Linked DNA regions of Homo sapiens: all the other regions are linked to region 7. The links are contacts of gene promoters, found by promoter capture Hi-C in blood cells and fetal thymus (Javierre and others, 2016). All regions are on one chromosome and are shown on one strand. The core of a region is centred on a gene start or on the middle of the fragment in contact, and the rest is flanking DNA. Distances in the headings are between cores, read along the strand shown.

What was found. The method cuts DNA at HindIII sites, captures the fragments that hold promoters and counts their contacts. A CHiCAGO score of 5 or more calls a contact.
Region 1: a fragment that was not itself captured here is called in contact with the fragment with the promoter of JADE1 in region 7 in 14 of 17 cell types (megakaryocytes, erythroblasts, M1 macrophages and 11 more); the score reaches 11.3 in megakaryocytes.
Region 2: a fragment that was not itself captured here is called in contact with the fragment with the promoter of JADE1 in region 7 in 16 of 17 cell types (megakaryocytes, naive CD8 T cells, naive CD4 T cells and 13 more); the score reaches 28.4 in megakaryocytes.
Region 3: a contact is called between a fragment that was not itself captured here and the fragment with the promoter of JADE1 in region 7, in 1 of 17 cell types (M1 macrophages). The highest score is 5.9, in M1 macrophages.
Region 4: a contact is called between a fragment that was not itself captured here and the fragment with the promoter of JADE1 in region 7, in 1 of 17 cell types (megakaryocytes). The highest score is 5.1, in megakaryocytes.
Region 5: a fragment that was not itself captured here is called in contact with the fragment with the promoter of JADE1 in region 7 in 5 of 17 cell types (megakaryocytes, endothelial precursors, M2 macrophages and 2 more); the score reaches 10.4 in megakaryocytes.
Region 6: a contact is called between a fragment that was not itself captured here and the fragment with the promoter of JADE1 in region 7, in 9 of 17 cell types (naive CD8 T cells, total CD8 T cells, total CD4 T cells and 6 more). The highest score is 8.0, in naive CD8 T cells.

What each region holds. Positions count from the first base shown.
Region 1 is chr4:128,206,403-128,210,648 of GRCh38, forward strand. It overlaps LARP1B (La ribonucleoprotein 1B), which reads left to right. Exons shown (of 20, transcript NM_018078.4): 18 at 26-135; 19 at 854-981; 20 at 3,454-4,246. The coding sequence ends at 3,651. Among named protein-coding and RNA genes, the nearest start is that of PGRMC2, 79 kb to the right of the region's middle. The HindIII fragment of the contact is 1,661 bases long and covers 1,053-2,713 here.
Region 2 is chr4:128,187,552-128,191,552 of GRCh38, forward strand. The region is part of intron 15 of LARP1B (La ribonucleoprotein 1B); the gene reads left to right. Among named protein-coding and RNA genes, the nearest start is that of PGRMC2, 98 kb to the right of the region's middle. The HindIII fragment of the contact is 3,724 bases long and covers 1-3,341 here.
Region 3 is chr4:128,151,531-128,155,429 of GRCh38, forward strand. The region is part of intron 11 of LARP1B (La ribonucleoprotein 1B); the gene reads left to right. It also overlaps the pseudogene FOSL1P1. Among named protein-coding and RNA genes, the nearest start is that of LARP1B, 92 kb to the left of the region's middle. The HindIII fragment of the contact is 6,075 bases long and covers 1-3,899 here.
Region 4 is chr4:128,168,877-128,173,058 of GRCh38, forward strand. The region is part of intron 12 of LARP1B (La ribonucleoprotein 1B); the gene reads left to right. Among named protein-coding and RNA genes, the nearest start is that of LARP1B, 110 kb to the left of the region's middle. The HindIII fragment of the contact is 3,716 bases long and covers 427-4,142 here.
Region 5 is chr4:128,222,699-128,226,775 of GRCh38, forward strand. It overlaps a transcript of LARP1B not described here. Among named protein-coding and RNA genes, the nearest start is that of PGRMC2, 63 kb to the right of the region's middle. The HindIII fragment of the contact is 472 bases long and covers 1,817-2,288 here.
Region 6 is chr4:128,266,969-128,270,901 of GRCh38, forward strand. It overlaps PGRMC2 (progesterone receptor membrane component 2), which reads right to left. Exons shown (of 3, transcript NM_006320.6): 3 at 2,274-3,933. Among named protein-coding and RNA genes, the nearest start is that of PGRMC2, 19 kb to the right of the region's middle. The HindIII fragment of the contact is 3,045 bases long and covers 121-3,165 here.
Region 7 is chr4:128,808,426-128,812,477 of GRCh38, forward strand. It overlaps JADE1 (jade family PHD finger 1), which reads left to right and starts at 1,275. Exons shown (of 11, transcript NM_199320.4): 1 at 1,275-1,452. RefSeq lists silencers at 1,098-1,577, 2,088-2,207, 2,838-3,117, 3,238-3,337, 3,518-4,052 and an enhancer at 1,678-1,787. The HindIII fragment of the contact is 6,052 bases long and covers 491-4,052 here.

The DNA of each region.
Region 1 (4,246 bases), core at 633-3,132, 600 kb before region 7:
TAAACCTTTTATTTTCTCTTTATAGGTATGGGTTAGAATGTCTGTTCAGGTTTTATAGTTATGGACTGGAAAAAAAATTCAGGCGAGAAATTTTTCAGGATTTCCAAGAAGAAACCAAAAAAGACTACGAATCTGGTAACAATAACATCAGAAAACTTGTACTCTAATTGGAAATTGTAAACCTGAGTCTGTCAGTAAATAGGGAAGGAGTTCATAGTTTTTTTCTTCAGGGCAAACCATTTAAGATCTTCATGCTATTGTTGTGTTTCTTGATGAAGGATGGGGCACCAGGTAGTAAGAAGGCCTTTCCTGGGAGGTGTTGGAAAGTAACTACTCTCAAGTCTTTCTTTTATGGAGGTATATTTTGTCATTATCCCTTTGACAAACGTGGCTACTCACTGATGTTCCGTTACATGAAAATTCTATGCAACATCAGCAGGTAAGCTTGGAAAGGCAGAAATAGCACAGTGGTTAAGAGTGCAGGCTCTGGGACAGACTGCTAGGTGCAAATTCCCTTTCCACTATTTAGAAGCTATGTGATTGTGGGTAAATTGCCTACCCTTGCTAGCCTCAGTTTTCTCATCTGTAACATATATGAGAACACCCATCTTTTGGGTTGTATATGGTTCAAATTAGTTTGATGCATAATAAAGCACTTAATGCTTGTTACATAACAAATGCTCAATAAATATTAGCTGCCATTATTGGTTAATTCATTACATGTCTTATTCTCAAGATCTAGAGTAAGCATATATTGGAAGATAAATTGTTTATTGCTGATAGGATTATATTTAATGTGAATAATTTTTAAAATTTCATATAATTCATAATGTATATTATTCTTTGTTATTAGGTCAGCTGTATGGACTAGAAAAGTTTTGGGCTTATTTGAAATATTCTCAATCTAAGACACAGTCTATTGACCCAAAACTTCAGGAATACCTCTGTAGTTTTAAGAGGTTAGAAGACTTCCGTGTTGATGTAAGTTTTAAGTCATTTCCTCTATTCTTTTTATTATCCATATATTTCAGTCTCTTATCAGTGACTTTTTAAGCTTTAATTTTGTAATTTTTATTTTTTAACTTTTTAGTTTTAAAATTAAACTTTGAAATAGATATAAAAATAGTTCAGAGAATTCCCATATACTCTGTTCACTCAGATTTCGCAAATGTTAACATCTTGTATAACCACAGTGCAATTGTTAATTCAATTTAATTTTCATATGCTGCTATAATTAAACATTTTCTAGATTTATTAATTTTTACCTGATATGCTAATTTGTCACTAGCAATGTGAAAACTTTTCACTTTTTAATGATCTTTTATCCATATAATTCCTGTAACATGTGCTGATATGGATTTAGGGTACCTGCATAATAAAATTAAGGAGAGAATGTTGTGTGCATGTGTGCAAGCACAAGAGTGGTGTCTTTTAGTTGAGTCAGCCAGACAAGGTCCTTTTGCTGCCATCTTACAACGATGTCCACTCTCATGCGTTCTTCTCATCACCTTTGGTGGAAGGTTGAACTTATATAGGCTTTATCCATTTGATTTCAAGAGGAAAAGAAAAGCATTAAAAAATGTCACGAATGTAAGAAGATAGAGGAAAAGGAGGAAGAAGATAAATAAAAAATAAAGGAAAAAGCCTGGGTGTGGTGGCTCACACCTGTAATTCCAGCACTTTGGGAGGCCGAGGCGGGTGGATCACCTGATGCCAGGAGTTCAAGACCAGCCTGGTCAACATGGCAAAACTCTGTCTCTACTAAAAATACAAAAATTAGCTGGGTGTGATGGTGCACGTGTGTAATCCCTGCTACTCAGGAGGCTGAGGCACAAGAATTGCTTGAACCTGGGAGGTGGAGGTTGCAGTGGGCAGAGATTGTGCCACTGCACTCCAGCCTAGGCAACAGAATGAGACTCTGTCTCAAAAAAAAAAAAAAAAGGGAAGAAGAAAAATTTTAAATTTAAAAATAGGAAAGAAGTAAAAGGAAGGCTAGGTTCATCATCTCTGCTTTGTGTTGTAATTTGTCTTGCAGTTTTGTGTAAATGGACTTGATGACCCAGGGATAGGGTTAATAAAAGTGCCTGTCTCTGGAATTAAGAGCTATTTTTCTAGAGTGGCCTAGCCAGTTCTGTCACAAAGACATCCTTGCTCTATATTTGAGACTCTTGCCCCATCTGAACATAAGCTAAGAATTCAGGCCTCCTTCTTTAAGTACAACGGAAGATTGGATGAGGAGGTTACTATCTTAGTTTAGCTCCACATAAAAATACTAGTTCATTGGTGTCCAGTTCTGGGCTCCCAAATCTTGGTAACTGGAAAGGCATAAAAAGCTGACTTTTTTTGAATGCAGGATACCTTTTCACTGGGTACTTAAACGTTTGAAGATGTTTAAATTTGGTGCCATCAATAATATTCTCCAGTCTCATCATAGGAATTCTAGATAAACCTTCAAACTTGCTAACGATAATTTAACTTGGCATCTCTTTTATTCCCCTACTGCTTTCATTTATCTGTTATTTAAACATTTTCACTTAAGCAAGCCTGGAATAGGAGTTTAGGATTGAGAAAGAGACTGGAAATACAAATCCTTTACAGTTGATGAAATTAATAAAGAAGGCAAATAGCCTCGCTGAAACATTTTCTTGGAGCCAAGGAACCCAGCCTTATAGTTATGCCCCATCAGATAGCTCAGGCCCTAAAAAATGAGAGAAGCTTAGTAAACATGTGTTGAGGCCAGGCATGGTGGCTCATGCCTGTAATCTCAGCACTTTGGGAGGCCGAGGCGGGTGGATCGCCTGAGCTTAGGAGTTTGAGACCACCCAGGGCAACATGGTGAAACCCCGTCTCTACTAAAAATACGAAAAAATTAACTGGGTGTGGTGGCTTGCGCCTCTACTCCCAGCTACTTGGGAGGCTGAGGCAGGAGAATCGCTTGAACCCCAAAGGCAAAGATTCCAGTGAGCCGATGTGGCACCACTGCACATCAGCTTGGGCTACAGAGTGAGACTCTGTCTCAAAACAAAAACAAAAAACAAGCAAACAAAAAAAACACTCGGGCTACAGAGTGAGACTCCGTCTCAAAAACAAAAAACAAAAACCACAAACATATGTTGAGTAAAAGAATGAGCAAATACTAGTAGGCTGATTTAGTTAGGAAGGAAATTTAAGTTTAGTACCTTAAGTTGCTGTTAAGTTTTTGTTATACTAATACAATCTGTGAGGCGGAAGAATGGCGTGAACCCGGGAGGCGGAGCTTGCAGTGACCCGAGATCGCGCCACTGCACTCCAGCCTGGGTGACAGAATGAGACTCCATCAAAAAAAAAAAAAAAAAAAAAAATTATACTGAAGTGTCCATTTAACTTACTTTTTTGGGGAAAAGTCTAGCCTTAGATTCTGAAGGGAGGAAAAACAGTAAAATTGTCAACGGTGTTGCCTTTCATCATTTGCAGCCCCCTATTAGTGATGAATTTGGAAGAAAAAGACATTCCTCTACTTCTGGTGAGGAGAGTAATCGTCATAGACTTCCACCTAATTCCTCTACAAAGCCACCAAATGCTGCTAAACCTACATCTACCAGTGAGCTTCAGGTACCAATAAACTCTCCCAGAAGGAATATTTCACCGGAGTCCAGTGACAATTCACATTAAACAGTGCTGCCTGTGTCCTGTGGTCTCAAGAAATGGTGAAATGCCTGAGAAATAGACTCTTATGAAAGTTCTTTGTCCTTGAAGTCAACATTTACATCAGTATTTATTTGGGGAAAATCTTCTGGTGTTTAATTGTGATAATAAGAAAGAAGAAAAAGAAAGAAAAGTGGTAGCATTTTTTCTAACAAGATAAATTCTAAAAATGTTTTCCCTGATTTCACAAACAAGGATAGTCTTGGTGACCTTTTATAGAGATCTTCTAGTAATGTATTTTGATCTCAGATTTCTTTTTCAAAGCCATGGTTTTACAAAAACAGCATTCCTTAAATATATTTAAAAAACAATACAAGGAATGCCTAACATTTCAGCTCATACTTCTTAAAGAAGATATAGTATGTTGTATTCTCTTCTTAGAGCTTTCTTAAAGAATCCACAATCCAATTACCCCACTGTCAATTCATATTTGAACTTACCAAAACAAAGGAGGATTACGTATATGTTTTTTAAATTCAAAAAAGAATATGAAATTATACCTTTAGTATCCCTTTGAGACATATAGTTTAAAGAAAACTTTTTTTAAAACAAAAGTAGGAAT
Region 2 (4,001 bases), core at 230-2,729, 620 kb before region 7:
AGGCTCATAGGTGGAAGGGACTAGCCTTGTCTCAAATGAGACTTTGGACTTTTGAGTTAATGCTAGAATGAGTTAAGACTTTGGGGGATTGTTGGGAAGACATGACTAGATTTTGCAATGTGAGAAGGACATGAGATTTGGCAGGGGCCAGGGTAGAATTATATGGTTTGGATCTATGTCCCCACCCAAATCTCATGTTCAATTGTAATCCCCAGTATTGGAGGTGGGGCCTGGTGGGAGGTGATTGGATCACCGGGGCAGTTTCTCATGGTTTAACACCATCTGCCTTGGAGTTGTCATTGTGATAGTGAGTTGTGAGATCTGGTTGTTTAAAAGTGTGTGGCACCTCCACTGTCTCTCTTCCTCCTGCTCCAGCTATGTGAAGTGCTGCTCCCCCTGCCTTCCACCATGATTGTAAGTTTTCCTAAGGCCTCCCTAGAAGCTGAGCCAGCATCATGCTGTACTGCCTACAGAACCATGAGCCAATTAAACCTCTTTCCTCTATAATTTACCCAGTCTCGGGTATTTTTTTTTTTTTTTGAGGCGGAGTTTTGCTCTTGTTGCCCAGGCTCAAGTGCAGTGGTGTGATTTCAGCTCACTGCAACCTCCGCCTCCCGGGTTCAAGTGATTCTCCTGCTTCAGCCTCCTGAGTAGCTGGGATTACAGGCATGCACCACCATGTCTGGGTAATTTTTGTATTTTTAGTAGAGATGGGGTTTCTCCATGTTGGTCAGGCTGGTCTCGAACTCCCAACCTCAGGTCATCCGCCCGCCTTGGTCTCCCAAAGTGCTGGGATTACAGGCATGAGCCACTGCGCCTGGCTGGGTATTTCTTTATAGTAATGTGAGAACAGCCTAATACATCTAGCTGAAGGTTTGTTGATTTTGTTTATCTTTTCAAAAAACCAACTTTTTCATTTCATTGATTTTTTGTACTTGTTTTAGTCTCAATTTTATTTATTTCTGCCTTGATCTTTATTGTTTCTTTCTACTAATTTTGGGTTTGATTTGTTCTTTTCTAGTTCTTTTAAGTACATCGTTAGGTTGCTTATTTGAAACCTACTTTTTTGATGTAGGCATTTATTGCTATAAAATTCTCTCTTAGTACTGCTATGCTGTATCTCATAGGTTTTGGAAAGTTACGTTTCCATTTGCATTTGTTTGAAGACATTTTGAAGTTTTCTTCTTAATTTCTTTATTAATCTGTTGATCATTCAGGAGCATGTTGTTTAATTTCCACGTTTGTGTAGATTCCAAAATTCTTCATGTTATTGATTTCTATTTTTATTCTGTTGTAGCCAGAAAAGATACTTGATATGATTTTGACTTTTTTAAATTTGTTGAGACATGTTTTGTAGCCTAACATATGTTTTATCCTGGAGAATGTTCCATGTGCTAATGAGAAGAATGTGTATTCTGCAGTAGTAGGTGAAATGTTCTATAAATGTCACTAGGTCCAGTTGGTCTAGGTGTAGTTTAACTTCATTGTATCTTTGTTGATTTTCTGTCTGGATGATCTGTCCATTATTGAGAGATGGGTGTTGAAGCCCCCTGCTATTATTTGTATTATAGTCTATCTCTCCTCTAGATTTATTAATGTTTACTTAATATATCTGGGTGCTCCAGAATTGGGTGCATATATTTTTAAATTGTTACAGCCTCTTGCTGAATTGATCCTTTCCTTTATCATCATACAGTGACCTTCCGTGTCCTTTTTTTTTTTTTTTTTACAGACTTTCACTTGTTCTATTTTGTTTGATACAAGTATGGCTACTTTTTTTTTTTTTTTTTTTTTTTTTTGCTTCCATTTGCGTGGAATGTCTTTTTCCATTCTTCACTTTCAGACTATGTGTGTCTTTATAGGTGATTTGAGTTTCTTGTAGGCAATATATAGTTGGATCTTGTTTCTAAAAGTTTTTCACTCAGCCATGCTTATATCTTTTGGTTGGAGAATTTAGTTCATTTACATTCAGTATTATTATTGATAGATAAGGACTTACTACGCAGTATGTCATTACTTGGTTTCTGGTTGTTTTGTAACTCCTCCCTTACTTCCTTCTTACTGCCTTTGTTTGTGATTAAGTGGTTTTTCTCTGGGAGTATGTTTTAATTCATTGCTTTTTATTTTTAGTGTATCTATCATAAGTCTTTGCTTTGTGGTTACCATGAGGCTTACCAAAGCCATAGCTGTAAGTTATTTTAAACATATGACAACTTAACTTTGATCACAAAGAAAAGGAAAGAATCAAGGGAAAAACTAAAAAACTCTACACTTCAACTCCATCCTCCCACATTTTGACATTTTGTTGTCTTAATTTACATCTATTTATCTTCCCTATCTCTTAACAGGTTGCTGTTAATATTTTCAGTAGATTTGTCTTTTAGTCTTCATATTAGAGATATGAATGGATTACATGTAACAATTACTGCATTAGAGCATTCTGAATTTGTCTACTTTTACCAGTGAGTTTTATACCTTCAAACATTTTTGGTTTTGCACATCAAAGTTTGTTTTCTTTCAAATTAAAGAACTCCCTTTAGCATTTCTGAAAAGATGGGTCTAGTAGTGATGAATTCCCTTAGCTTTTGTCTAGGAAAGACTTTATATCTCCTTCCTGTTTGAAGGAAAACTTTGCTGGGTACAGCATAGTTGGTTGGCAGGTTTTGTTTTTGTTTCCATTTATCCTGTAGCACTTTGAATGTGTCACTTAACTCCCTCATGGCCTGTTTGGTTTCTGTTGAAAAGTCTCTTGCCAAAAAAATCAGAGCTCTTTTATATGTTCTTTTATTTTTTTTCTCTTGCTGTTTTAAGGATCTTCTCTTTGTCCTTGACATTTTCAGGTTTGATTATTATTTGCCTTGGGATACTCTTATTTGGATTGAATATTGATATGGTTTGGCTTTGTGTTCCCACCCGTCTCATCTCGAATTGTAATTCCCATAATCCCCATGTGTCAAGGGAGGGACCTGGTAGGAGGTGATTGGATCATGGGGGCACTTATCCCATGCCGTTCTTGTGATAGTGAGTGAGTTCTCACAAGATCTGATGGTTTTATAAGTGTTTGACGGTTTCTCCTTCACACATACTCTCTCTCACCTGCTGCAGTGTAAGGGTGCCTGCTTCCCCTCCCACCACGATTGTAAGTTTCCTGAAGCCTCCCCAGCCATGTGGAACTGAGTCAATTAAACCACTTTCCCTCATAAATTACCCAGCCTCAGGTATTATTTATAGCAGAGTGAAAATGGACTAATAAAAATATATTTGGTAATTTCTGACCTTCTGTACCTAGATATTTATATCTTTCTTTAGATTTGGAATGTTTTCTGTTATTTCTTTGAATAAGCTTACTACTCCTTGCTCTTAACTCATCATTGAATGCCAGTGGCTCTTACATTTGTTCTTTTGAGATTATTCTTTATATCTTGCAGGTGTTCTTCATTCCTTTCTTTTTCTCCTCTGACTGTATTTTCCAATAGGCTGTATTTGAGCTCACTGATTGTTTCTTGCAATGTGAGAGCCTGTAATCCATTTTTCAGAAAACGTATTTCTGAGTTCCAGGATTTTTTTTTTTAATTTCAATCTCTTTGTGTTACATTTCTCTGATAAATTTAATTGCTTCTCTGTGTTATCTTGGATTTTGCTGAGTGTCTGTAGAACTGTTATTTTGTTCTTGATCTGAGACCTCACACATTGCTTTTCTTCTCCCTGACTCCTTGCTTTGTGCATTTGGGGATGTCATAGTTCCGTGTTTGCTGTTGTTTCTCGTGGATGTACATTTGTGGCTTTGCTTTAAAGGATTTATTATTTATCCCAGTCTTTGCTGTCTTGCTTGTTTTGTCTTTCTAAGGTATGTTTTCTTAGAGATTCTTTGCAGTAGCGTGTGAGTTCCCTTAATACTATTGTATATCAGTGCCTCCTTTTGGGCACTAGATGGCGCCTTAAGCCCAAGTTTGCCTTGGCTCTCACAAACATTGGAGCACTGCCTGTCAGATGGTGGGGGT
Region 3 (3,899 bases), core at 1,161-3,660, 660 kb before region 7:
TCAAGAGTTCAGGCCAGTTGTTTTGTCCTTCAGTTTGGATTTGCCCGATATCTTTATATGATTAGCTTCAGGTTAAGATTTTTTTTTTTTAAGGTGGAGTCTCGCTCTGTCACCCAGGCTGGAGTGCAATGGCGTGATCTCGGCTCACTGCAGGCTCTGCCTCCCGAGTTCAAGTGATTCTCCTGCCTCAGCCTCCTGAGTAGCTGGGATTACAGGCATGCACTACCATGTCTGGCTAATTTTCTGTATTTTCAGTAGAGACAAGGTTTCACCATGTTGGCCAGGTTGGTCTCGAACTCCAGACCTCAAGTGATCTGCCCACCTTGGCCTCCCAAAGTGCTGGGATTACAGGTGTGAGCCACCGCGCCCAGCCAGGTTAAGTATTTTTGACAAGAACATTACATAGGCAATGTGCCTTGTTTAGTATATGCTCTCCAGAGACATGTGATGTCAGTTACAAAATTTGATGTGGTTAGAATTGGTGATTTGGTCATTTGGTTATGATGATATCTACCAGATTTGCTCACTGTAAATGTACCTTTTCTCTTTTGTAATTAATAAATGATCCTTGGAGTGATATTTTAAAACTGTGTTCCCCAACAGTCTTTATTCAGTATTTTAGCTTCCATTGGTGATTTTTGCTTGAATCAGCTATTATGCTTATTATAAGATGGTGATTTTTTTTTTTTTTTGAGGTGGACTCTCGCTCTGTCCCCAGGCTGGAGTGCAGTGGCGCAATCTCGGCTCACTGAAACCTCCACCTCCCGGGTTCAAGCGATTCTCCTGCCTTAGCCTCCCGAGTAGCTTGGACTACAGGCGCATACCACCACGCCCAGCTAATTTTTGTATTTTCAGTAGAGACGAGGTTTCACCATGTTGGCCAGGATGGTCTCGAACTCCTGACCTCGTGATCCACCTGCCTCGGCCTCCCAAAGTGCTGAGATTACAGGTGTGAGCCACTGCGCCCGGCCAACATGGTGATTTTTATTTATTTTTTATTTTTTTATTTTTTAGGTTAATGTTTTTTATTTTTTATTTTTATTTTTTTATTTAGATGGTGATTTTTAAATTTGTTATTCCCTATATGTCTGTTAGTATTCTTCTATAAAGAAGAACTTTCCTCTCCACTTCATTTTTTTATTTTTATATTTTAATTTTCTCCCTTTTTAGTGATAGTATGGACTCCAACATGGATTTCTATCCATTCTTGTCCTCATTCATTTTGATGTTCAGAATATCTCAAACCTAGTCAGGTTAGAGCTCTCTCAAGATGGTTCCTGCTTATAACCAGCATGTTGTCATCTGTTCAGCACATTTATATTTTATGGCACAACAAAGTGGTCTTGTTGCCCTCTTCCTTTTTTACTTTTGTTTTTTAATTGTGATAAAACACACAACAGGATTTATTATTTTACAGTTTTAAGTTTACAATTTTGGTTTGCCTTTTTTTTTTTTTTTTTTTTTTTTTTGAGATGGAGTTTTGCTCTTGTCACCCAGGCTGGAGTGCAATGGTGTAACCTTGGCTCACTGCAACCTCCACCTCCTGGGTTCAAGCGATTCTCCTGTCTCAGCCTCCCCAGTAGCTGGGATTACAGGTGCCCGCCAGCACACCCAGCTCATTTTTGTATTTTTAGTAGAGACGGGGTGTCACTATGTTGGCCAGGCTGGTCTTGAACTCCTGACCTCAGCTGATCCGCCTGCCTCGACCTCCCAAAGTGTTGGGATTACAGGCATGAACCACCACGCCTGGCCTTGGTTTGCCATTTATTTATTTATTTATTTATTTATTTATTTATTTATTTATGAGACAGACTCTCAGTCTGTCGCCCAGGCTGGAGTGCAGTGGCGCGATCTTGGCTCACTGCAACTTCCGCCTCCCGGATTCAAGCGATTCTTCTGCCTCAGCCACGGACTACAGGCGTGCACCACCACGCCTGGCTAATTTTTGTACTTTTAGTAGAGATGGGGTTTCACCATTTTGGCCAGGCTGGCCTCGAATTCCTGACCTCGTGATCCATCCGCCTTGGCCTCCCAAAGTGCTGGAATTACAGGCATGAGCCACAGTGCCTGGCCAGTTTGCCTTTTAAAATGTGGTCTTCCCTGGTTTATCCCTGGCCTACTTCTCTTATTATTTTGATAGCTTGTCTAGAAATGATAGACTCTATTCTTAAGTTTTGGGTTTTTATTTATTAACTGTATGCTAATGACTCCCTTGTGTCTTTGTGGGACTCTAGAACTATATTACCGGTAGCCTACTAAATTCTCCAGTTATTTGTCTTATGTTTCATAGGCATCTTTTTTATATTCTGTCTCTCATTTTAAAAAATGAAAGAAAACCCACCCCAAACCTATATTTTTTATTTTGCTTGGATGCCTTAGGAATCCCCATCCACTTATCGTAACTTCTAACATGCAGTTTGTCACTAGGTCCTATCAGTCCTTTCATATTCATTCCTACTGCCATGCGTCATCTCTCTATAGAAGTTTTATAGGATGTTCTTGGCTCTAGTTCATTCTCTTTCTAGCTTAACTCTTGTCAGAGTAGTCTTTCCTCCTTATTTCTCATTTCATTTTTTTTCCCTAGCAAATTAGATAATTTACTACAAGTCCAAGAAGCAGTTCTTGATTTTAGGCAAGGCTTTGTATAAGACACCAAAGAAAGACTTTGCTTTTCTTTACCCCTATCTTTGGTGTACTTTGCTCTGTGTTAGCTTCATTTTCAGTTACGCTTTCTCTGAGTGGGAGCAACAGTGGCCATTGATGGTTTCAGGCTTTCATTATTTTCAAAGTAAATGATTCCAAGGAAAATCCTTCATCCTTCTAAAATCCTTCATCATCGTAAAATATAAATATGATTATTTCTCTGTTTTTCTTAATTCTATTCAGTGGTTCCTCACCCCCTTCAGGATAAAGTTCAAATTCTTTGGCAAGCAAGAATTCATGAATTCTTGATTTGGCTTTTACATATTTTCATTGTCCTGTTGCTCTCTGCTTTAAAATTTGTATCCATAAATACCAAGTTGCATGTGCAGTTTCCTCTGCCTGCAGTGGCTTTTCACATTGTTTACTTGCCAAATTCATTATCTTTTAGCTAAATAAACCCCAGTTCAGATATTACTCTTCCAGGAAAATCTTATTTGATAAATTTTGTGCTCAATCCCAGAAAAATTACTCTCCTGTTCTACCTTTGCACCACATATGTATGTTTGTTTTTGACTTATACTGAATTGTAATCTGTTTACAAAATTTTATTTTTTTTGAGACGGAGTTTTTTGCTCTGTCACCCAAGTTGGAGTGCAATGGTGTGATCTCGGCTCACTGCAACCTCCGTCTCCTGGGTTCAAGCAGTTCTCCTACCTCAGCCTCCTGAGTAGCTGGGACTACAGGCGCCCACCACCACGCCCAGCTAATTTTTATATTTTTAATAGAGATGAGGTTTCACTATGTTGGCTAGGCTCCTCTCGAACTCTTGACATCAGGTGATCCACCTGCCTTAGCCTTGCAAAGTGCTGGGATTACTGGTGTGAGCCACTGTGCCCAGGCTACAAATTTTTTTATATCCATTAGATCATTAAATCTCTTTGGTCCCTTTTTGAACAAGGCAAGGTATAAATTTATTAAAAATAACAACAACAACAAAAACAAAAACCAAAATTAGGCTTTGGTTGTGCATCCAGTTGTGGTAGACTGGCTAATTCAGATGAACCCTATTGCTGAGAACAGCTGAAAAAGTAGGTTTAAAAAATCTGTGTGAAGGCACAGTAGAGGGCCAAGACAGTAAAACATCATGTGGTCAAAATCTGGAAAGAGAGTCGGAAGCCAGCGGCCGTGGACCACGCGGAGCCGCCAGCCCGGGGCATGTTCTGAGACTTCAGGGAACCCGGCCCGAGCTCCGGGAA
Region 4 (4,182 bases), core at 1,035-3,534, 640 kb before region 7:
GTTTGTCCACAATTGTTTATTTCTTACACATTGGTAGCATTCCCAAGTGATGCCATCTGGGCCTGGAACTATTGGAATGTTTTAAACTACACATTTATTTATTTAAGAAACATAAGACTAAGTAAGTCTTTTTTCTCAGGTGAGCTTTTGTACCTATTGAATTTATTCATTTCCTGGAATTTATAATATGCTCTTTTTCTCCTTTTACTGTTCGTAGGTTCTGTAGAGATATCTCTTCTTTCATTCCTACTATTTATAAATTTGTGTCTTTTTTGTCTTGATCGATCTAGCTAGAGGTTCATCAGTTTAATTTTTTTAAGTTTTATTTTCATTGATTTACTTTATTTTTATTCCAGGTTTATTAATTTTTGCTCCTTATTATTTCCTTTTTTCTTATTTTGTTCCTCCTTTTCTAGTTTGAGTGGAAGCTTAGATCATTTATTTGACACCATTTTTCTTTCCTATTATAACCATTTAATACTACAAATTTCCACCTAAGCAGTATTTTAGGTGTTATTGTATTTTGATTTTCATTCAGTTCTATATATTTTCTAATTTCTTTTTAATTTTTTGATACATCAGCTATTTAGAAGTGTTTTTGTTTAATTTTTAAAATTTGGATATCTTCCTGAAATCTATTTTTTTGAAATCTAATTTTTAAGGGAGAGTTTAAATTATTGATTTGAGAGTTTCTTTTCTGATATAAGCATTTAATATTCTCTCTCTATCTCTATTTCTATCTTTATCTCTATCTATCTATATATTTTTTTAAGACAGAATCTCGGAGTCTCGCCCTGTCGCCCAGGCTGGAGTGCAGTGGTACAATCTCGGCTCACTGCCACCTCTGCCTCCTGAGTTCAAGCGATTCTCCTGCCTCAGCCTCCTAAGTAGCTGGGATTACAGGTCTGTGCCACCACACCTGGCTAATTTTTGTATTTTTAGTAAAGACCAGGTTTCACCACGTTGGCCAGGCCGGTCTCAAACTCCTGGCCTCAAATGATCCACCCACCTCGGCCTCCCAAAGTGCTGGGATTACAGGCATGAGCCATGAGCACAGCCCTTAATTCTATGTATTTTTATTTAAGCACTGATTTAGCTGCATTCCACAAATTTGATATGCTGTATTTTATTAATTTTTATTCTTTTCAAAACATTTTCTAAATTCTTTTGAGACTTCCTCTTTATGGATTATTTAGGAGTGTATTCGGTGTAATTTCCAAGTGATTGGAATTTTTTCAGTTACCCCTCTGTTATTAATCTTATTGATATATAGTTTAATTATATTATAGCCAGAGAACATACTTTACATTATTTTAAAATTTAAAATTAATTTGTTAATTTCAAATTTGTTTAATTAATTTGCTAATTTTATCACCCACAATATAGTCTGTCTTGGTGAATATGCCATATGCATCTGAGAAGAATGTTTATTACACTATTTTTGAGTAGAATGTTCCATATTGTCTGTTCAATTCAGTTGGTTAATGGTGTTGATGAGTTCTATATCTTTGCTGATTTTTTGTCTACTGGTTCTGTCTTACTGAGAGAGGAGTGTTGAAGTCACCACCTATAATTGCAGACTTGTTTATTTCCTATTTCAGTTCTGTTGTATTTTGCTTTATTTATTTAGAAGCTCTTTTGTTAGTTCACCTTATACCCATTGGTATATTGTGTCATCTTGGTGAATTGGCCCTTTCATTCATATATGTTGTCCTTGTTTGCTTTGAAATTTAGTTTGTCTGATTTTAATATAGCCATTCCAGCTTTCTTTCATTTCTTTCTCATGGTATGTGATGTATCTTTTGCCAACTTTTTACTTTTAACGTACCCATATCATTATATTTGAAGTCAGTTTATTATAGATAGCATATAGTTAGTTCATGTTTTTTATTCAGTCTGACAGTATATCTTTTAATTGGTATGTTTTGACTAATGTAATTATTGGTATGTTTGGATTTAGGTCAACCTTTTTATTATTCATTTTCTTTTTCTTTTCTTTTTTTTTTTTTTTTTGGCTTCTATTGCCCATTTTGTGCATTCTTTGTGTTGTTTGTAACTTTTTCCATTACATTTTAATTTATGTACTATGAATTTGGACATATATATCTTTTTTTGTATAATTGTTTTTAGTGATTGCTCTAGGGGTTGCAAAACACATACTTTTCAGTTTATTTGGAATCAGTATTTTACCATTTCAATAAGAATGTAGAAACCTAACCTCCATAGAGATTTTTTTTTTTTCCTTTCTCTCCCCACCGGCCCCACCCCAAGAGATAGGGTCTCACTCTGTTGCCAAGGCTGGAGTGCAGTGGTCTAGTCATGGCTCACTGCAGCCTCATACTGCTGGGTTCAAGCAATCCTACCACCTCAGCCTCCCGAGTAGGTCGGACTACAGGTGCACGCCACAAAGCCCAACTAATTTTTTTATTTTTTGTGGAGACAGGGTCTCACTACATTGACCAGATTGGTCTAGTACTGCTGGCTGGCCTCAAGAGATTCTCCTACCTCAGCCTCCCAAAGTGCTGGGATTATAGGCATGAATCACCACACTCAGCTGAAATTTCTTTATGTAATAATTGTCTTATATATCTTCATATGTTAAAAAGCCCATCAGACAATGTTTGATTGTCTTTCAAGCGTGTTTTACTTTCAAGCGTGTTTTAAATAACTTAAAAGGAGAATAGTCTATTATATTTATCTGGACCTTTACCGTTTATCTTGCTGTTCCTCTATTTGTGATGTTTCAGGTTTCCTTTGTTATCATTTTCTTCTGTCTGAAATACTCAGGTTAGCAATTCTTTTAGAGCAGTTCAGTTGGCTATGATTTATAGTTTTCTTTCTTCTGAGAATGTCTTTATTTCACCTCATTGCCAAGGATATTTTCACTGGATAAAGAATTCTGAACTGACAATTGTTTTCTGTTAGTGATTCAAAACTGTTGTACCACTCCTTTCTGTCCTCCATGGTTTTTGGTATAATAATTTATAGTCATTCAAATTGTTTCCCTACAAGTAATGCATCTCTAGCTACTTTCAAGATTTTTTTTTTTTTTCATCTGACATTTACAGCAAATAGAGTGTGATGTGCCTTGGTATGGAGTTCTTTGGGTTTATCCTGGATGGGATTCTCTGTTTCTTAAATCTGTAGGTTTGACTTTAGACAAATTTGGGAAGTTCTCAGCTATTATTTCCTCAAAAAAAATTTTTAGCCCTGCATTTCTTCTCTCCTAGACCTTTTGTTGTCTCACAGGTTCTTAAGGATTGGCTGATTATTTTTTTTCAATTTCTTTTTTTTTCTGTTGTTGAGGTTGCTTTTCTGTTTTCGGTTCAATTTCTGTTGATTCTGGCTGCTTTTAATGTTTCCTCTGTCACCTATTTTAAGCACCTTAATTACGATTGCTTTGGTGTACTTTTCATGTTTCTTGTGCTTGAACTCACTGGATTTTTAAAATATGTGTGTTTATACATTTTTAATCAAATTTGGAAAGTGTTCAGCTGTTCCTTTAAATTTAAAATTTTAATTAAAAAATTAATAGGCTGGGTGTGGCAGCTCATGCCTATAATCCCAGCACTTTGGGAGGCCAAGGCGGGTGTATCACCTGAGGTCAGGAGTTCGAGACCAGCCTGGCCAACATGGTGAAACCCCATCTCTACTAAAAATACAAAAATTCGCTGGGTGTGGTGGCGCACACCTATAATCCAAGGTACTTGGGAGGCTGAGGCACGAGAATCACTTGAACCCGGGAGGTAGAGGTTGCGGTGAGCCAAGATCAAACCACTGCATTCCAGCCTGGGTGACAGAGTCAGACTCTGTCTTAAAAAAAAAAAGAAAAGAAAATTAATAATGTTTTCTTGTTACTTTTTTCTCTTTCTCTCAAGACTCCAATTACATTTAAAATTTATATTAGGGCACTTGAAGTTGTCCCATACTTCACTAATGCTCTGTTTTGTTGTTGTTGTTTTTCAGTCCTTTTACTCTGTTTTTGTTTTAGGTAACTTTTATTCCTCTCTTCAAGTTTATTAGCCTTTTCTTCTACAGAGTCTATTTTTAATCCCATCCAATGTGTGTGTGTGTGTGTGTGTGTGTGTGTGTGTGTATGTGTATGTTTTAAAATCTCAGCTGTTGTCCTTTTCTCATCTAGAAGCTTGATTGGGTTCTCTTTTATACTGCCTATATATATAT
Region 5 (4,077 bases), core at 803-3,302, 580 kb before region 7:
CTCTACTTGTGTTAAGACCTGTCTCCAATAGACATTCCAATTGAGGATTGTGGAAATAGCAAATTACATTGGTGTCTGCCCACCACTGAAGGCAAAAAGCTGGTTTATCTAGGCCACAGGCAGAGCCCGCAGGGGAGGCAGGTAACTTCTCGGACCACCAGATTATCTTGATCTTCAGCCAGCTTTATTGTTGTTCTACATTTTAATAAACACTACATGTTTATTTTATTTTATTTTATATGTGTTATGTTATGTTATGTTATTTTTTTTGAGGCAGAGTCTCCCTGTTTCTCCCAGGCTGGAGCACAGTGGTGAGATCTCGGCTCACTGCAACCTCCGCCTCCCAGGTTCAAACGACTCTCGTGCCTCAGCCTCGCGAGTAGCTGGGACTACAGACATGCACCACCATGTCCGCCTAACTTTTCTATTTTTGTAGAGATGGGGTTTTGCCAGGTTGCCCAGGATGATCTTGAACTCCTGACCTCAATTGATCCTCTCTCCTCAGCCTCCCAGAGTGCTGGGATTACAGGCGTGAGCACTGCGCGCCTGGCCTGTTTTATTATTTTGAAGATTACAGTATAGGTTTCTAGGAAGCCTGGATGGAGGTTCTCATATTCTAGGTAATATTTAGCTATTTAATAAAAATTTATTTTCAAAACCTTAAAGTTTGTGGATTACATACAATACAGTTTTTGACTTGGTGCATGAATGTATTGAAATGAACTTGATACCATTATATTCACTTTAAAGCATATCGGCACAATTTCCTAGAACCAATCTCTAATGACTATTCCTGAAACTTTTCATACTTGTCATATTTTTCCATTCAACTATGTTATTTACTTATTTATTTTAATTTTTTTGAGATGGAGTCTTGCCCTGTCACCCAGGCCGGAGTGGAGTGGTGCGATCTTGGCTCACTGCAACAGCCTGCCTCATGGCTTCGAGCGATTCTCCTGCCTCAGCCTTCTGAGTAGCTGGGGTTACAGGCGCACGCTACCACACCTGGCTAATTTTTGTGCTTTTAGTAGAGACAGGTGTCATCATGTTGGCCAGGCTGGTCTTGAACTCCTGACCTCAGGTGATCTGCCTGCCTCAGCCTCCCAAAGTGCTGGGATTACAAGCCTGAGCCACTGCACCCGGCCTTGACTATGTTATTTAAATCACTAGTGCCTAAACTTTGCTAAAGTGATATAGTAATAGCTCAAATAATCGTAATAAGGATATTTTCAGAATAAAAAAGAATATCATGGAAGTTATTACCCAAGTAAAACTTCATTCCAATCTTTGCATTTTACCTTCTCTCAACTATGAGAAGTCAGGAATATTGTCTATCTTGGTTACCATTATATTTCCAACAAAGAAGAATAAAAGAAAGAGGGAAAGAAAAGAGGAGGAAAGATGGAAGGAATATCTTGAAATCCTGTCATCTAAAATAACTATCATGACATCTGGCATATATAACATAATATTTTGCCTAAATTCTTAAACTATACAAGGACAATATATGTAAGATATTTTATTTATATTTATTTATTTTTAATTTCTCAGCAAAAGCCACATTCAAATATGTAAGGTATTTTAAACAATATCACAAGTGCTGAAGAGATAAAACACATAAGAGCCAAAAGAGTGAAGACTGATAGAAGGCAGGCTGTAACTAGAAATCCTTCTAGCCATCATCCAGGGAATGGAACTGTATATGAGATTGAAGTATGGTTATAGCTAAACATACTTGCTTGATTTTTTAAAGCTTTACACAGTTGATTCAGGGTAATTATTGTGTTATCTTTGGGGGATTCTTGATCCTGAACAAAGCTTCATTGTTAGTACTACTACGTTAAAAGTCCTATTGAGTGAAACAGAGGATATAGTCTAATTCAAGGGCCAAGGGAAGGCATCAAAATATTTAATTGGTTTGTCAAAAACTCCCACCTTTAGAAACTCCTGGGAGGTGCAGTGGCTCATGCCTGTAATCCCAGCACTTTCGTAGGCCAAGGTGGGAGGAACACTTGAGGTCAAGAGTTCGAGACCAGCCTGAGGAAATAGCGAAATCCAGTCTCTACAAAAAAGGAGGAAGAGGAGAAGGAGAAAAGGTGCACAAATTCCTAATTTTTTTCCTCCACTTTATAAAAGAAAGGCATTGTCCTGACCTATCCCAAATACTGCTGTAGTTATGCAAGCTGTCATGGGCCACACATAGGTGAAATCTTCATAGTAATTCATTGAGCTATCATAAACCCACAAGACTTGCTAAATTTCTCTTCTTTATAAATATTTATGGGTAAAGCTTTGTATATTGTGGCTAGTGTACACTGTATTATTCAATGAGGGATTTAGAACACATTTTTATCAAATCATAAAATATGCATTACAATTACTATGAGTCCATCCTACAAAATGTTTAAAATTGTTAACTTTTTATTTACAAAATATATTATTTTAAAAATAGCTGCTAAATTTGTTTTTAGTAGACTAAAGCATTCTGTTTCATTAGATTTATTTTAAAAGTTGAATCATGATTTTTCTCAAGACAGGCATTTCCAGTAAATCTGTGGCCAAGATTGTCGAGCTGTTTACCCAAAGCATTTCTAGAATGCTAGACTGCATTCCTGTCCTCCTGCTCTTTCAGGTTTGCCAATATAATTGGTTCTGGTTATTGGAAAGCAGATGAAGTAAGGGGCTCCACTTCTAGACTTGGCCACGTGCCATCTTCATGCTCATTCCTTTCTTCTTCAGCTATACAGAAGCCATATGTTGAAAACAACAGAGCCCTGAGGAGTAGCCCTGAATCACTACCTAGTCCTTTTGGGGACTCTATATTAAATCAAGAAATAGCTTTTAATTATATTAAGCCACAAGATTTTGAACTTTATCTGTTACAGTAGCTAATATTAACTTAAGTGATAATAACAAATTTACTACTTATGTTTAATAATTACCAAAATGTGTATATATTGTTGTTGTCTCGATCAATTCTATATTAATATTTGTAATAACTCAAGAAAAGTTTTTATCAACTAGAACCACTTATAGTCAGAGTAAAGTAAAATTTTAAATTATGTACTTATTTTTGTTTTAATACATTTACATATCTGGTCAATAATATTTTCAAACATAAAAACATTATGATAAAAATCTGGAAAAAATGGGATAGAATACAAGCTCAAGGAGAAAAAGGAAAGATGTAAGCTTTCTAAAAGTTAAAGAATAACTTGCTCATATATTTAAAAAAATAGATCCAAATGTTATATATTTGGATTTCGTTGGATTCGCTTAAAATGAAATTTATAATATGCTGGAAATTATGACCTATGCAATTATTTAAAATTATAAAAAGCTTAGATGTCAGCTTAAAGCTTCATGAGGGATATATAGCTTATGAAAATTATTTTAGGGGGTTTTCAAGCAAAAAAGTGTAAATGCACTGACAAAAGGGGGAAGGTGCATGCTTTGGAGTTAAGTAGCCCTGCATCCAAACTCTGCTTTTGCTATATGACTGGGCAAGTTAGATTAACCCATTGGCCCTTATTCTGCTCAATAAATTAAATGAAAATACATGTAAAGTGCTATCTGGCACTAACCTGCTCTTGCTATTAAAAATCTTAAGTACTTCTAGGAAGGAAAAATTAGCCACTCAGGTGAAAATTAATTAATCAGAGCCCATATTTCTGAGAGTAGATTAAAAAATTAGGTACAGAGGGGAAAGAACTTATTTGGGAGAGAAAGGATAATTTTAGAACATGTAGTATAAGCCAAGAGAAGAAGCTCTGTTACATGGCAGAATGATACTGGATGGGACCCTATTTTGGAGGACATCCGGAAAGGTTGGCGAGGCTGTACATAAAGGAAAAGTGAGAAGAAAGCATACATTTGCTTTCATTTGCCTTGGTTCTAGTCTACCATGCAATGAAAATAGCTCTCATATTTTAAAGTCACTCAAAAGATTGCTTTTAAGTGGGTGTAATGATTTTATATGTACCCTAAATTACAGCATGTGCTTTATGAACCTCCTCCCTTGTGTTCCACGTGACTCCTATTTTAAGTAGATTCAAAGTGATTCCAGAGTTAACCAGG
Region 6 (3,933 bases), core at 393-2,892, 540 kb before region 7:
ATGTTTGGAAAATGGTTCCCAGTGCTAGGAAGATTTAAAACTCTTATAATAGGAGTTATAATAGTAATAGGAACCTGCTTACTGTTCCTTTGTTTGCTACCTGTACTTCAAATGATAAAAAGCTTCATTGCTACCTTAGTTCACCAAAATGCTTCAGCACAAATGTGCTATATGAATCATGACCTGTCTTGCAAGAAGACATGGGTAGTGAGGATGGAAGTGAGAACTCCCACTAATGAGTGAGGTTCTCAATGTGGGGGAATAAGGGAGGAGACCACCCCTCATATTGTCTTATGACCAATTTCTGCCTCAAAGAAAAAGTAGGAGTTAAAGAAAAGAAAGAAGCAAAATCAGTAAGACAGCCCGGCACTGCATTCCAGGTCTGGTAGTTAAAGATTAACCCCTGATCTAACCAGTTATGTTATATCTATAGATTCCAGACATTGTATGGAAAAGCACTGTGAAAATCCCAGTCCTTTTCTGTTCCATTCTGATTACCAGTGCATGCAGCCCCCAGTCACATACTCTTACTGCTTGCTCAGTCGATCACGACCCTCTCACACAGACCCCCTTAGAGTTGTAAGCCCTTAAAAGGGACAGAAATTGCTCACTTGGGGAGCTCGGTTTTTGAGTCCGCCGATGCTCCCAGCTGAATAAAGCCCTTTGCTTCCACAACTTGGTGTCTGAGGGGTTCTTGTCTGCAGCTCATCCTGCTACAGAACTTCCTGCATTTTCATTAAAAACTTTATTATTTGGGAACAATACTATGCAGCCACTAAAATCATGCTTTCAAAGTATTTAAAAGCATATGCAAATATTGGTCTTCTTACACTAAACATCATGATGTGGTTTTCTTGGATCTTGTGTGGATACTGTAAAAGAAAAATTTTAGGAATAAGCCAGTGTTCATAGCATGTCAAATGCTCTCTTGAATGGAGTAATTACAGGCAGCCCAAATGTGCTCTCAGCCACTAGTGGTGGTAGAACAAATGCAAAGCTGGTACTCAAAGTGACTCAGGAGTATGGCAATTTTTCTGTACGTGCTTTTCTAACAGTGCCTAGGAATGATGGTTTTTGCCTAAAAACAGGAAAGTTGGGTCGTCTTTATTGGAGCTTTCTTGCCATAGTCAAATAGAAAATAATCAGTGATGAGTATCATCTAACAAATTGATGGCTGACCTTAATGGAACATACTCAAAAGCTATCTTTTAAGCATTTGCTACTTTAATTAGAACAATTCATTCAGTATCACTGTTACAATATTCCATGACTCTTATTTTCAATATACTCAAAGCAACTTGAAAGTTTTATAAATTCTTTACTACAGTATTACCCGCTTATTCTGACACATAAAAGCTCTGTAGTTACACACTGTTAACATGTTAATGGCACATCTTACTAGCAACTTGCTGCACTTCTGTTATCAATAGAGGTTATGTGAAATACTTGGATAAGGACAGCCTGATTCTGTAGAAAATATCTGTTTTCTATAGAACAAAATATCTCCCAGTGGTAATTCAGCAAATTAGGTTCAAGAATGTGGGTAAAGGTAGGTGTAATGTTGGATTCTGAAGATCTACCTGCAGAAACAGATCTACCTACAGAAAGGCACGTAGAATTACTGTTAGGAAACCTAAGCAGCCTTAGCACCATGGTCAAGGTTTTAAAAACCTGATCTGTAACTGTTATGGGTTCATTTCCTAATGCAGAGAAACTGGCTAGTACACACAGTGTAGATTTAATGTGGGAAATATGACAACTTGGAAATGCTACCCAAAGATAAAAATCTAAAGACTATCAAAATTTGCTGTTTTCTAAAATCATACATTAGAATTTTGTGAAGTCTTCTGAATGACACAAAACCAGATGAAGGGAATCAGACCAAAATTACCTGAGTAAGGCCATTTCAAGTGCCTAACAAAGATGGTCAATATTAACTTGAAAAACCAGTGTTTCCTAAGTGTTCCTGATCAGAATTACCTGAGGTATTCCTTACAAATAAATTCTGAGGCCCATTCTCTTAAAGATTCTGGCTTAGCGGGTGGTACGTCTGGATTGAAGGCTAAGAATCTGTACCTTAAGCAATTCTAATTATCAGGCAAGTTTCGAAAATAGGGCTAAGCAGGAGTGTGTGTGTGTGTGTGTGCATGTGTCTGTCTGTGTGGAGGGGGGAGCGGGGAACAGGAACAAAGGAACAATACCAGCACTGTCTGGTCCCCTCATTCAAATACTGCCTGAAAAACTACCTGAGAATGAGAAACATTCAACTGAAGTTGAGGAATTATCTACAGAACACTGTTTATTTCAAGTCCAAAACACAAATTACTCATTTTTCTTAACAGACCGCATAATTTTTTCTGCATGAATATTTAGGGTTTCTCTATTCACAAGTACAGTTTATTACTAGACTTTAGGCTTGAATGATTCATATATATAGATATCAGTTTACTACAGAGGACATGTACTTTTAACATTTTTTGTTTAGAAAATATTTTACATAAAAACACAAAGCATTTACCAACACTCCACAACCAGTCTTCAGCAAAGATTTGGCTGAAGATAACTTTCTACAAAACACTCCAAGACTGAATAGAATGTAGTATTTTACATACTTTAGCTTATTGTTGCAGTTAAAAGCTCCCCCTTGTTTGATGGCTTCTGCATGTATCTACAAAGCAGAAGTCTTAACTGGTGACCTGTTAAATAACATTGCCTTTTTAAGTGAACTTGTCCCCAGCCCGGAACCTAAGTAGTCATAATGAAATAAAGTAATTGATATATGAGGGGCTTTTAGTAAGGGCTTTTTCAACCTAATAAAATAATAATTTAGTATCTATCAGTGCAATATTCTTTTACTGTTTTGTGTTCAATAACCACCTGGAGTGCTAATTGTCTAGTATAATCAGTTGGCATCAAAATAGAAAGTAAAAAGATGTACATTTAATATACCAATTCTTACCTGAATAATCTTGGATTTCTGGAGAATGTTCCACAAAGTGGAATTTCTTCCTAAAGTTATGCTGAATGTGGTACAATGTGTACAACTTGGTTAACCAGTGCCTGCTTTTCATTTCCAAGATTTTTCCTTATCTTGAATCAAATGCACAATCTTACAACTGTATCATAATGCACTGGCTTACAGTTCTGTATATAAAGTCCAACTCAAGCTTATTTTGGTTTATTGTACATGCTTTATTAAAATGGTACTTGTATTTACAGTATCTGCAGAAAGAGTCCCTTCCAAGGCCTCACACATTCAGACACATCCATACTGACACCCACTCCACAGCCCCATGCACCCACACCAGTGAGATGTGGAGGGTCAGACTCCTAAAATTAGGCAGCTGTTGGGGATAAGAGTTGATTTGTTTTTCAATTTTTTTGAAAACAGAAAAGCATGGGGGAATGCATTTGGCCATTACAATGCTAATTGAGTTTGTGTATATTACATATATGGCAGTTAACACTGTAATATTCCTTTTACATTCTATATACACAGAATGATATCAAGGTTTTATGGTCAACAGAATATTCCAACTTCAGTCTTAATGCTGCTTGTAGTGATTTCTGAATTCATTATAGGGGCTTTCCCTAAAAATAATTCAAGTCTATGTTAAGTGAAATAAGGCACAATTAATATTGATTTGATTTAGGGAAAGGGAAGGAAAGAGAAGGGATAAAAACTGGTTTCAAATGATCTTTCTGTTGGGGAACTAGCTCTGACTTAAACCCACCTGAAATTCCTTCTCCTAATTTCCAAAGATTTCTTTATAAAGATATTTTTCTTTTCCCTGACAAAGCCAAAAAGAAAAGTTTGGGAATTCACATTTTAATGTTTCAGTAGCCTGAACAACTCAAATTGATGTGTACCCCCACCTCCCCTGATCAGGTCGCCTCCCTCACCCATGTTAAAATAAAAACACAGTATGTGAC
Region 7 (4,052 bases), core at 25-2,524:
AAGATTCTTCCGGTGGACACATATGCCTTTTGGGTTCGATATTCAATTTTGTAATTAGTGATCACTGTTCCTATTTATTTATTTATTTATTTGAGACGGAGTTTCGCTCTTATTGCCCAGGCTGGACCACAATGGCGCATTATCGGCTCATCACAACCTCCACCTCCCGGGTTCAAGCGATTCTCCTGCCTCAGCCTCCCCAGTAGCTGGGGTTACAGGCATGTACCACCATGCCCGGCTAATTTTGTATTTTTTAGTAGAGACAGGGTTTATCCATGTTGGTCAGGCTGGTCTTGAACTCCCGACCTCAGGTGATCCGCCCACCTAGGCCTCCCAAAGTGCTGGGATTACAGGCGTGAGCCACCGCGCCCGGCCTGAATGGGAGTTTTTAATCCGTACTTTTTTCTTATTGAAGTTGAATGTCATATACCCCTCTATTTCCCTAGATGAATCCATGAAAGAAGTATGTTGCCCTCTATATGAAAAAGCAAGCTTGTCTTCTGCAGAAAATCAGTAACCACTCCTTTTTACACATAAATACCCCCAAATGAATCTCCGATGACTGATCTGATACTAGTCTGCAATTCTAGTTTTAGCATTAGGCTCACTCCTCATATTTGGGAGAAGATGTCCAATTCTGTAGTAATGTGTAACATAAAGTGGTGTCAATTTATAAATAATATCTTCTAATGAATTAATGCTCATTTGCAATGATCACTTCCATACAAATTTAGGTAAAGATGTTATTCAGAATTGGATTCTCTCTATTTAAAAATGTCATCCTAATGTGCAACTCCCTAAAACTGTTACTACAAACAACTATTTTGCCACTCAGCCTAAAAATAAAACCTTTCACCCAAATGACACATCTTAATAGCCATATTTTAATCTACGTAATTTTAAACTATTCTGAAAGAATCCATTTCTAGATGTCAGACAAGAGTTGAAACTGGGACAGCAGTTTGAAGGGGCTAATTTAAAAACCCACTTGCTTGGAGACACCTCAAGAATTTCTAGGCTCACAAGGTGGGTGAAGTAAGGAAAGAGACTAAGAGCTGAACAGTGCCGTTCTTTGCGAGCCCCCACTGGCGCAGGCTGAGCCGGCTGCGGCTAGGGCTGCGAAGAGTTAACGAGGGACCGAGCCCCAGCGCCGCGGGCTCCCCGCATGCTCCCTCCGCCCTCCCGTCCCCACCCTCTCGTTTTGGCAAGGGATTAAAGTGCTCCCCCCTGTGGCAGCAGTGACCCAGAAATGAGTTTGATTCACATAGTCCTTCCTCCATAACAAGCCAAACGCCAGACCGAGAGTGCCTCCGTGCGCGAGTGCCCGGTGTGTGCGCGCCGGCGAGAGCAGGGGCCCGCCCGGCTCCCCGCCCGCCGCGGCCCGAACTCATGCAGCTCCGAGCGAGCGAGCGGCGCCCAGCCCAGCGCCTCGGCCGAACCCCTCCGCAGCAGGTACGCGCGCGGGCCGCGGGGGGCGCGCGGGGTGGGCGCGCCGCGCGTGTGTCCGCGCGTGTCCGCGTGTGGGTCCGTGTGCGCGTCCCGGTCCCGCGGCGGCGACGGCGGCGGCGGCGGCGGCGGCTGCAGGACGAGCCGAGAGGCTCAGCCATATTTGATGGTTTTGTTGCTTTGCTCGGGAGTTCTCGGGAGTAATTTAATGCCGAAGGTCGCTGCCTAGTGGAAATAATATAATACGTCATTAATATGGCGCCAAAAGATTGGGTTCTCGATCTGTAGCGAGGAGGGAGGGAGGCAGCCGCTGAGCGCAGCGTTACTATCCCACCAGTAACTTGGGCATTGCCGGGGCGGGGGCCGGAGGAGGAGGAGAGGATGATTTTTGGATCCTGAGAATTGATCTATGTTGGATCAGTAAGTTTTATTATGATTTTTTTTTTCAAATTTGGGGGGCTGAAGACTTAGAGCTATTTCTTCTTTTGGATTTGCGAAGAACATGCGGTTTTCAGGTGAATCATCAATTAAACGCGTTTAGGAGCAGAAGCCCAGTTTAAGTTGGCTTTAGTTTATAGGTTTTTTTTTTTTTTTTTTTTTTTTAGAAAGCCAAAGTGCATTAGGCTGCATGAAAGTGGAAAGCATAGTAGCAACTTGGTAGACAGATGGCAATGGCAGAACGCAGGTTCGCGTACATATATGAATCCAGAGTGTGTGAGACCGTGTGTGTGGTGGGACTGTATTTGTCCAAACATAGGTGTGCGTAGGTACATCTGTGTGTGGTGGCCGCAGCCCTGGCTCTTGTCACCGCGTCACCACATGTCCAAAATATTCATTGCATCAATTCAAGGGCAGTGAGAGGGGGGTGGGGGTGGGGGTGGAGGGACAGTTTGGCAATTAGATTCTTCCGAACTGGGCTTCCAGTGATCAGATCTTTTACTTACAGCGCGACTGCTTGTAAAGTGTAAAACCCCTTAATCGATGAAATGGGGTAGGAGTTGGCGTTGGTAGAGCAAAGTACCGATTAATCGTGAACTTAAAGGGGATTGCAAATTGCAACCTTTGGCACCATCTGCAAATTGTGGGGGTGGGGTCTCTTGGTCTCCTTGCTTCCTTAAATGAACGTGTAGTGTGTACCCCGGGACTGCAAGTTGCAGAGCCCTTCAGTGCACGTGTCTTGTGCCTGTGAGTCTGTGTTTGCGAGTTGGGGGCTGTTGTTCGGTAGCCAGCAGGCTTTCCGGGTTGCTCGGCATTGGCTTGCAAATGCGGGAGAGGGATGGAATGTGGAATGTTGACCGGGGAACCGAATCCTGTCGGAACGGTCCCATTTGCTGGAGAAATTCGATCCCTTCCACCTCCTTCCCGCTCCCCCCCGCCCGCCTTCGGGCAGGAGGCGGGGCTGAGGACGCGGCTGCTGCTCAAAGTGGCGGAGCGCGGCGGCGGGAGGCAGGTGCACGGCACCCGCCAGTGGGGGTGCCTCAACTTCCGCGGGCGTTTAAATAGCAGCCTCTCTCCCCTCCCACCGGTAATAGGTGACCTGGCGGCCGAGGGCGGCGGGGGAGGGAACCGGGGGAGACTCGGGAGCGAGCCTCCGCGGCACGTGGGCAGGTGCTGGGTGGCCCCGGGGCCAACTTTTGTAGCCCGCCTCTGGTGTTTGAGGAGAGGCGGCCCAGTGTGGAAATGGGGGCGGGCGGCGGCCGAGGCGCTGCTTCTCCGCTGCGGCCGGAGCGTCACCTAACGGTCCCAGCTGCGCCGCCCGGGCCGGGGTGGGGGGTTGCGGGGGCGGGGACGCCCGGCCCGCCGCGCCCGCCCCGCACAAAGCCCGCGGCGCGGGGGTGGCCGCTGCGCCCCCGCCCCGGGAACGGCCCGAAGCCCGACGCGGTCCCCGCGCCGGTTCCGGCGGGCGGCCGCAGGCGTTTGTTTGTTGGTTCCGCGCCGCCTTCCTCGCCGGATGGCTTCCTGTGACAGAGGTGATACACAGTTTCCAGAACTGTCTGGGGGCGGGAGCGGGAGCGGGAGCCGAGCCCGCTCGGAGCTCCTCGCCGCCGCTGCCGCTCCCATCTTAAAACCGTTTCTCGCCGGCGCGCCCGCCCCAGCCCGAAGGTGCCGCCCCGGAGGGACTCGGGGAGGGGGACGGCGCGGCCGTTTCCAGCGGCGCAAGTGGCTTCTGGACGCGAGGGAGCGTTTGATTTGCAACTGGGGCCGAGCGGATTGGTGCAGCTGGCGGCGGCGGGGCGGGAGGAGCTGCCGCGGCGGGGGGTGGCCACTTTCAAATGGAGAGGGCGGCGGCGGCGGGGACGCCGCTGCGGAGGGAGCGGGGCTTGGTTGCGCCACGAGAAGGTGTCATCACTGCACCGGGGCTAATTCCGGCGGAGGTGCCGGGAGTTACTTTCCCCTCCTCCCGCGCTGTTGTTTCTGTCGCCTCGGGAGGAGGAGGAGGAGGAGGATTGGGAGAGAGGGAGGGGTCGGCGCCGCGCGGAACCGCGGCCCTGCGCATTCCCCGGCGGGCGGCGGGAGCCGCGCGGAGCGTTCGCCGCTGCGGGGCGGCGGCCGAGCTCCCCCACAACCCCGGGGTGCCCCCCTTGCTGGGATCCTTAGCCTTCTCA